2 separate regions of the Homo sapiens genome follow, and region 1 is linked to region 2. Evidence: promoter capture Hi-C in human tissues and cell types (Jung and others, 2019). All regions are on one chromosome and are shown on one strand. The core of a region is centred on a gene start or on the middle of the fragment in contact, and the rest is flanking DNA. Distances in the headings are between cores, read along the strand shown. Region 1 overlaps LOC105371850 (a long non-coding RNA gene). Region 2 holds the start of TUBD1 (tubulin delta 1).

Region 1 (4,245 bases), core at 784-3,283, 510 kb after region 2:
CACTACTAAATGTCCCATTTTAGAAGCTGTTTGGGTGGGTGCGATGACTCCACGCCTGTAATCCCAGCACTTTGGGAGGCCGAGGCAGGCGGATCTCTTGAGGTGAGGAATTGGAGACCAGTCTGGCCAACTTGGTGAAACCCTCGTCTCTACTAAAAATACAAAAATTAGCCGGTATGGTGCTGCACAGCTACTCGGGAGGCTGAAGCACAAGAATTGCCTGAACCAGGGAGGTAGAGGCTGCAGTGACCCACGATCATGCCACTGCACTCCAGCCTAGGCGACAGAGCAAAACTGTTTCAAAAATAAAAAGAACAAAAAATAGAAGCTGTTAGTTTTTTGTTTTTGTTTTTGTTTTTGAGACAGAGTTTCGCTCTGTCACCCAGGCTGGAGTGCAGTGGCTCAATCTCGGCTCACCACAGCTTCCACCTCCTGGGTTCAAGCAACTCTCCTGTCTCAGCCTCCCAAGTAGCTGGGATTACAGGCACACACCTCCAAGCCAACCTAATTTTTTTTGTATTGTAGTAGAGATGGGGTTTCACCGTGTTGCCCAGGCTGGTCTCGAACTCCTGAGCTCAGACAGTCCACCCGCCTCAACCTCCCAAAGTGCTAGGATTACAGGCATGAGCCACTGTGCCTGGCTGAAGCTGTTAGTATTTTTAAAATCATGCGGTTGAATTGCTTGAGCCCAAGAATTCGAGACCAGCATGGGCAACATATCAAAACCCCATCGCTACAAAAATACAAAAATTAGCCAGGCCTAGTGGCATGTTGCCTATAGTCCCAGCTGCTCAAGAGGCTAAGGTGGGAGGATCACCTGAGCCTGGGGAGGTGGAGGCTGCAGTGAATCATGATCACACCACTGCATTCCTGCCTGGGCAACAGAGTGAGATCCTGTCTCAAAACATAAAATAAAATTAAATAAATAAATAAAAGGCACCTCAGGGCCATTTAATAAATTCATCCGTAACCATCGTGCATAGAATTTTATTCTTTCAAAGGTTATTATTTGGCTGGGTGCAGAAGCTCACTCCTGTAATCCAGCACTTTGGGAGGCCAGTGTGGGAGGATTGCTTGAGCCCCAGAGTTGAGACCAGCCTGGGAAACATAGTTAGACGCCACCTCTCCAAAATGTCTTTTTTAAATTTAGCTAGGTGTACTGGTGCACACCTGTATTCTCAGCTACTTGGGAGGCTGAGTTGGGAGGATCACTTGAGTCCAGGAGGTCAAGGCTGCAGAGAGCCGTGATCATACCACTGTACCCCAGCCTGGGTGACAGTGCAAGACCTTGTCTCAAAAAAAAAAAAAAAAAAAAAAGCTTATTATTCTGAAAAAAAAAATTTTTTTTTGGAGACAGTCTTGTTCTTGTCATCCAGGGACCATCTCAGCTCACTGCAACCTCCGCCTCCTGGGTTCAAGCGATTCTCCTGCCTCAGCCTCCCAAATAGCTGGGACTACAGGCCCATGCCACCATGCCCAGCTAATTGTTGTATGTTTAGTAGAGAAAGGGTTTTGCCATGTTGCTCAAGCTGGTCTCAAACTCCTGGCCTCAAGTGATCCACCCTCCTCAGCCTCCTAAAGTGCTGGGATCACAGGCGTGTGCCACTGCACCTGGCCCATTATTCTGAAATTCTACATTGAAGTTCTTCTTTTGCTTTTTTTTCTCTTTTTTGAGACAGAGACTTGCTCTGTCACCCAGGCTGGAGTGCAATGGCATGACCTCGGCTCACTGTAATCTCCACCTCCCAGGTTCAAGCGATTCTCCTGCCTCAGCCTCCTGAGTAGCTGTGATTACAGGCACGCGCCACCACGCCCAGCTAATTTTTGTATTTTTAGTAGAGACAGGGTTTCACCATGTTGATCAAGCTGGTCTTAAACTCCTGACCTCGTGATCCACCTGCCTCAGCCTCCCAAAGTACTGGGATTACAGACATGAGCCACTGCGCCTGGCCTTTCTTTCTTTCTTTCTTTCTTTTTTCAAACTCCATTTTGTAAGGTTGATCAGTTGCTCAAAGACTGACATGCTAATCAAATTTCAGTGAAACAGAGGACTTTTGTTTCTGATCATGATGGAGTTAAAAGGGACCAGATTAACCCTTCTGCCATACACACCTAGGAAGCTAGACAAAACATACAGAACAACCGTTTTCAGATGTTGGACAATTGGCAGTGCAGAACTGACGTCATTGAGATAAAGAAAACAAATGAGGTAAATTCTGTGATTTTCCTAGCTTTTTGCCTAGGGGTGCAATCTGGATCATAAAATCAGAATGTGGCAATCTCACTGAGGACGCACAGATTGGAGTTCATGGAACCTGAGGCAGCTGTGGAAGTTGCTGTGCAAAATTCCAAAAAGGAAGAAGGTATGCAAAAACCTTCAGAAATTTGCATAGGATCTTGAGTTTTTTCTGAATATTAAGGTAGCCATAAGTAGAGCTAAGTTCCAGGAGACTGAGCAAAGAACAATTGAAGAGATGTAACTGAACAATTCCCAGAGCTAGGAAACATACAAATTATGACCAATTGGAGTAGAAATAACTTAGTGACCTCCCAAGATGTTCAGGAGAGACTGCAGCAGAGGTAAACCTTACTAAAAGGTCTAAACTAGGTCTAGAGTAAAGTACACGCTAGAACTGCTTAATGAAGCTTAAAAACTAGCCTCAAAAACATCAAACTAATCCAAAAGTAAGTTAACAATCTGGTACAACAAAGACCTATACTCTTTAAGGGAAGACTACAAAATACAGACATTCAACAATGTGACATCCACATTAGCCAGGTGTGGTGGTCCATGCCTGTAATCCCAGCTACTCAGGAGGCTGAGGCAGAAGAATTGCTTGAACCCAGGAGGCGGAGGTTACAGTGAGCCGAGATTAAGCCACTGTGCTCCAGCCTGGGCGACAGAGCAAGCCTCTGTCTCAAAAAAAAAAAAAAAAAAAAAAAAAGCAGAAACAGGCCGGGTGCAGTGGCTCACGCATGTAATTCCAGCACTTTGGGAGGCCAAGGCAGGCGGATTGCCTGAGGTCAGGAGTTCGAGACCAGCCTGGCCAACATGGTGAAACCTCGTCTCTACTAAAAATATAAAAATCAGCTGGGCGTGGGGGTGAGCGCCTATAGTCCCAGCTACTGGGAAGGCTAAGGCAGGATAATTGCTTGAACCTGGGAGGTGGAGATTGCAGTGAGCTGAGATGTCGCCACTGCACTCCAGCCTGGGGTACAGAGCGAGACTCCATCTCAAAAAGAAAAAGAAAGAAAAAGAAAAACAATGTGACATCCTGAGATCCAATAAAAAATTACTATTTATACCAAGAAGCAGGGGGGAAAAATCAGGTGACAGACATGGACCCAGAAATGACAGAAATTATGGAATTAGCAGATAAGAATGATGAAACAGCTATTATAACTATATTTAAAGAAAAACATGAATATAATGAGGAAAGAAGAAAAAAGAACCAGATGGAACTTCTAGTGGTGAAAAATACAGTATCTGAACTTGTAACCACATCGTATCAATCTGGCTCAACTTTTTTTTTTGAGACAGAGTCTCGCTCTGTCCCCCAGGCTGGAGTGCAGTGGCACGATCTTGGCTCACTGCAAGCTCTGCCTCCCGGGTTCAATCGATTTTCCTGCCTCCGCCTCCCAAGTAGCTGGGATTATAGGTGCATGCCACCATGCCCAGCTAATTTTTGTATTTTTAGTAGAGATGGGGTTTCACCATGTTGGCCAGGCTGGTCTTCAACTCCTGACCTCAAATGATCTGCCCACCTCACCCTCCCAAAGTGCTGGGATTACAGGCATGAGCCACCATGCCCGGCCAATCTGGCTCAACTTTTATATAACAAAGTTGTGAGTTTTCAGTTGCTATGGATTCCCCAGGTTGAAGGTTATGTAACCTGAGCATGCCCAGATGAAGCAAGCATGCAACGATAGGGGGAATCTAAGTGCTCAGACCAAGGAGCAGAGACGGAACTAAGTGGACACCACATAGTTTGATCCAGGATCCAATCAGATCAAACTCTGACATCACCCCATGCCAGGATCCAGTCAGATCATGCCTTCTGGCATCACCTCATTGCAAGATCCAATCAGATAATACCTTGCTACCCTATGCTTATAAAACATGACCCAGACCCCAGCTTGGGGAGACACAGCTGAGCATTTCCTCCTATTTCCTTGCCAGCTGACTCACAGTAAAACTTTTCTCAGCCGGGCACAGTGGCTCATGCCTGTAATCCCAGCACTTTG
Region 2 (3,865 bases), core at 906-3,405:
TGGTTAGATCAGAGTAAAGGAGAGGACTGTGGGCCACACCTACCTCCATTCTCCTCCTCACTGAAGAATCTTTCTTTGCAAGATGCTTGATATGCCTCATTCTCTCTCATAGAGCAGAGTCCCTGGGAACTGTGTGAGTCACTAAGCAAAGCATCAAAAACTTCAAAACCAATCTGATTGCCACACTGACCAAGTTGCACTGTTACAATTGACATGCTGAGCCACAAACTAGGTGTATTACCTCTAAAAACAACCTGTAATCGAAAAAAATACGCTTTGAGAACCACTACATTACTAATAAGAACAAATAAAATGCCATGTATGTTAATTATACATCAATAAAAAGTCTTTTTTCCCCCCTGAGACGGAGTCTTGTTCTGTCACCCAGGCTAGAGTGCAGTGGCATGTTCTCGGCTTAATGCAACCTCCGCCTCCCAGGTTCAAGCGATTCTCCTGCCTCAGCCTCCCGAGTAGCTGGGATTACAGGCACGTGCCACCACGCCTGGCTAATTTTTGTATTCTTAGTAGAGATGGGGTTTCACCATGTTGGCCAGGTTGGTCTTGAACTCTTGACCTCGTGATCCACCTCCACCTACCTCAGCCTCCCAAAGTGCTGGGATTACAGGCTTGAGCCACCACGCCCGGCCCAAAAAGTCATTTTAAAATGCCACATACGTATATAATATTGGAGATAGAACAGCTGTGTTGTCTAAGGAGCTAGTCATTCAAGGAAGTTCTCATACTCTCTACATGGTTTTGGGATTTGTGATTTACTGTACCTGAATCCATTCATACACAGCTCAATAGTTTCCAAAATCTGATTTGTAATCACTTTTTTCCTAAACATATGTTTAAAACAAAACATTCTCCTCAGTTGAGGAGTGATAAAAGAAAAAAAGAGGCTGGGTGCGTGGCTCACACCTGTAATCCCAGCATTTTGGGAGGCTGAGTTGGGAGAATCACGTGAGCCTGGCTGTTCCAGACCTGGTCAACATGGCAAAACCCTGTTTGTACAAAAAATACAACCATTAGCTTGGCGTGGTGGTGTGCGCCTGCAGTCCCAGCTACTCGGGAGGCTGAGGTGGGAGGATCCCCTGAGCCTGGGAGGTCCAGGCTGCAGTGAGCCAAGATCTTGCCACCGCACTCCAGCCTGGGTGACAAAGTGACATCCTCCTGTCTCCAGAAAAAAAAAAAATTAAAATTAAAAAAATAAAAACAAGACAAAACAAATGCTGATTGAAGAAATTAGTAGTACCACCCTTCACACCACATGAACATGTAGAACACAGAAGTGTGCTCAACATTGTACATTCAATTAACATTAATTTTCTCTCTTCTAAATAATAGCTTACGCTTTCTCCACTAGTCTAGCCTGGTAACTTTAGTAAGACCTGTAAGAAAGATTTTGTGTTTAGCTCAGGTAGGACAGCAAGAAAGATGCAGCTTGGAGAAAGAAAACCAGATGAAATATTAACCGGGCGCAATGGCTCATGCCTGTAATCCCAGTACTTTGGGAGGCCGAGGCGGGAGGATCACCTGAGCCCAGGGATTCCAGACCAGCCTGGGCAACACAGCGAGACCCTGTCTCCATTTGAAAAAGAAAGAAAGCAAAAGAAACATTAGAGCAGTTCCTCATTATTTTTACCTAGGAAAAGACAAGTTTTGATAAAGACTTCACATCAGGTCTATGCAGCACTGGAAATGAGCCGTGGGTTGTGAGACAGACTCTGTGCTTAAAATGTCAAACCGGCAAAGTAGGTTTATTATTATCCTCATTTTACAGATAAGGAAACTGAGGCTCTGAAAGGTTATTGACTTTTCCAAGGCCACAGAACTAGTAAAGAGCAAAGCCAAAAGGTCCCCCGTTCCCCACGGGCCCCAGGAGTTCTCCACACGTAACCCGACTCACCGCCAGACGCCGACCAGCGCTTCTGTCCGGTTCAAACTTCGGACCAACCTACTCACCATGCGCATGCTCACTTTCAAAACGAAAAACTTACTGAGAACAAATGCGCATGTTCCATAAACGGAGAGTTTTGTTGTGTATATATTTTTTCCTATTCAGAAAGATTAATTACGCATGTTCAATTTCAATTTACGAACTTCAGATATGGTACGCATGCTCACTGTCCACCGAACGCTCCAGCTGACAATGCGCATGCTCTAGTCCTCCAAGCGCGACTTCGGCTGGTGTTTTGCGCATGTTTCTGCCAGCGCCTGGATCCTGCCGATAGTTCTGCGCATGTCCACTGCCCACTGTTTGGCTTCACGGAACCCTGTACGCATGCTCCTACGCTGAACTTTAGGAGCCAGTCTAAGGCCTAGGCGCAGACGCACTGAGCCTAAGCAGCCGGTGATGGCGGCAGCGGCTGTGGTGGCTGCGGCGGGTCCGGGCCCATGAGGCGACGAAGGAGGCGGGACGGCTTTTACCCAGCCCCGGACTTCCGAGACAGGGAAGCTGAGGACATGGCAGGAGTGTTTGACATAGACCTGGACCAGCCAGAGGACGCGGGCTCTGAGGATGAGCTGGAGGAGGGGGTGAGGCCCGGGGTCCCCGGGGGCCCGAGGTGACAGGGCCGGGGCGGCGGCGCGGGCTCAGGAAGCGCGGTGTGTCCTAGAGCGTGGAGACCCAGGGGGGCTCCTGAGGAGCTGAGGGTCGCGCGGCCTGAGACAGGGGAGCGGGCGGGGCGGTCATGGCCCTAGGTGTGAGGCCTCTGCGGGGCTCGCAGGTGCAGGTCGCACCCTTAGCCCCAGGTCAGCGCAGCCCCGAGCGATCTGAAGAGGGAAAGAGAACGGGCGCGTGGTCGATTCCTCGAGCTGTTGGACTTGAGTGTGGCGGGGAGCGGGTGGCGTGAGCGTGTGTTGGGGAGACGGGGGCTGCTCTTGCTGGGTGTCCCGTAAGTGCAGGCGAAGTGTGGAGGGTTTCCCTTCGAGTCTAGAATTTCAAGTATTGAATCTTCAGACCTCCCACAACCACCTCTCTTCTCGGCCTGTCGCTTCTCTCCTAGGAAGCGCTCAGCTGTTAGAAGTGACAGCTGAAAACTTCTGTCGGGAGTAGCACTGCCGCTGCTGTTACAGCCACCAGGAGTTTTATTTCGGGAGCAAGGGGGCTCTGCTGCATCTTCCAATCTTCCAGGGTTTGTTTGTTTGCTTTTTTTTTTTTACCCCCTTCCGTGTGACTTTTTAAAATAAGCATTTATAAGGACACACGGCACTTGTAACCTTTCCCCAAGTTGAAGATGTCTGTATTTTTTTCAGAATAATTAATGTAATTTTGAGGTGGAAAAAAAAACCAAAAACCAGTTGACAGCCTTGATTTAGCTTGCCAGAAATAAGTTGCCTGAACAGAGACTTGTGAATGGTGGTATGAGGGCTTTCCTTGCTGTAATTTAGGGTGCTAAATTTAGAATTGTATTTCCTAATGCATAGCTTGGTTTCACCCTGCTGGCTTAGTGGTTTGTTAATCTTTATGGAATAACTTTTTTTTTCCCTAGATAAATTTATCAAAAAATGACAAATTGCACCTGAAGTTCAAAAATGTTGTCATACTAAATCACTGATCCTGGACCAAATGATCATCAGTTGATAACCTCTTGGTAGTTTAGCATCTAAATTCCAATGTCTAGTTGAATACATGGGTTAATGACGTCAGATGTTTGCTCTAATTACACAGGGGCTTCCTTTCCCTTGCCTCACCCTCAGTTTTTCTCCTCTGGCACCTGCCCTACTGTTGACAAAAGATTGAGATGATGTATATAAAGAATTTTGAACACTTTAAGAAACTAAGTGGCCTAAAATAATACTGTTCTTCTTGTTTGTTTCTTTTGTTTTGTTTTGAGTTGGGTCTCACTCTATCACCCAGACT

What was found. The method cuts DNA at HindIII sites, captures the fragments that hold promoters and counts their contacts. A contact is called where the count stands out against the background at its distance.
Region 1: a contact is called between a fragment that was not itself captured here and the fragment with the promoter of TUBD1 in region 2, in 1 of the 25 tissues and cell types used here (dorsolateral prefrontal cortex).

What each region holds. Positions count from the first base shown.
Region 1 is chr17:60,404,862-60,409,106 of GRCh38, forward strand. All of the region lies in intron 2 of LOC105371850 (a long non-coding RNA gene), which reads right to left. It also overlaps a transcript of USP32 not described here. Among named protein-coding and RNA genes, the nearest start is that of USP32, 15 kb to the left of the region's middle. The HindIII fragment of the contact is 3,269 bases long and covers 400-3,668 here.
Region 2 is chr17:59,890,788-59,894,652 of GRCh38, forward strand. TUBD1 (tubulin delta 1) reads right to left here and starts at 2,156. Exons shown (of 9, transcript NM_016261.4): 1 at 1,910-2,156; 2 at 44-254. The coding sequence starts at 215. RPS6KB1 (ribosomal protein S6 kinase B1) reads left to right here and starts at 2,334. Exons shown (of 15, transcript NM_003161.4): 1 at 2,334-2,538. The coding sequence starts at 2,398. RefSeq lists an enhancer at 2,082-2,361 and a silencer at 2,552-2,751. The HindIII fragment of the contact is 25,982 bases long and covers 1-3,865 here.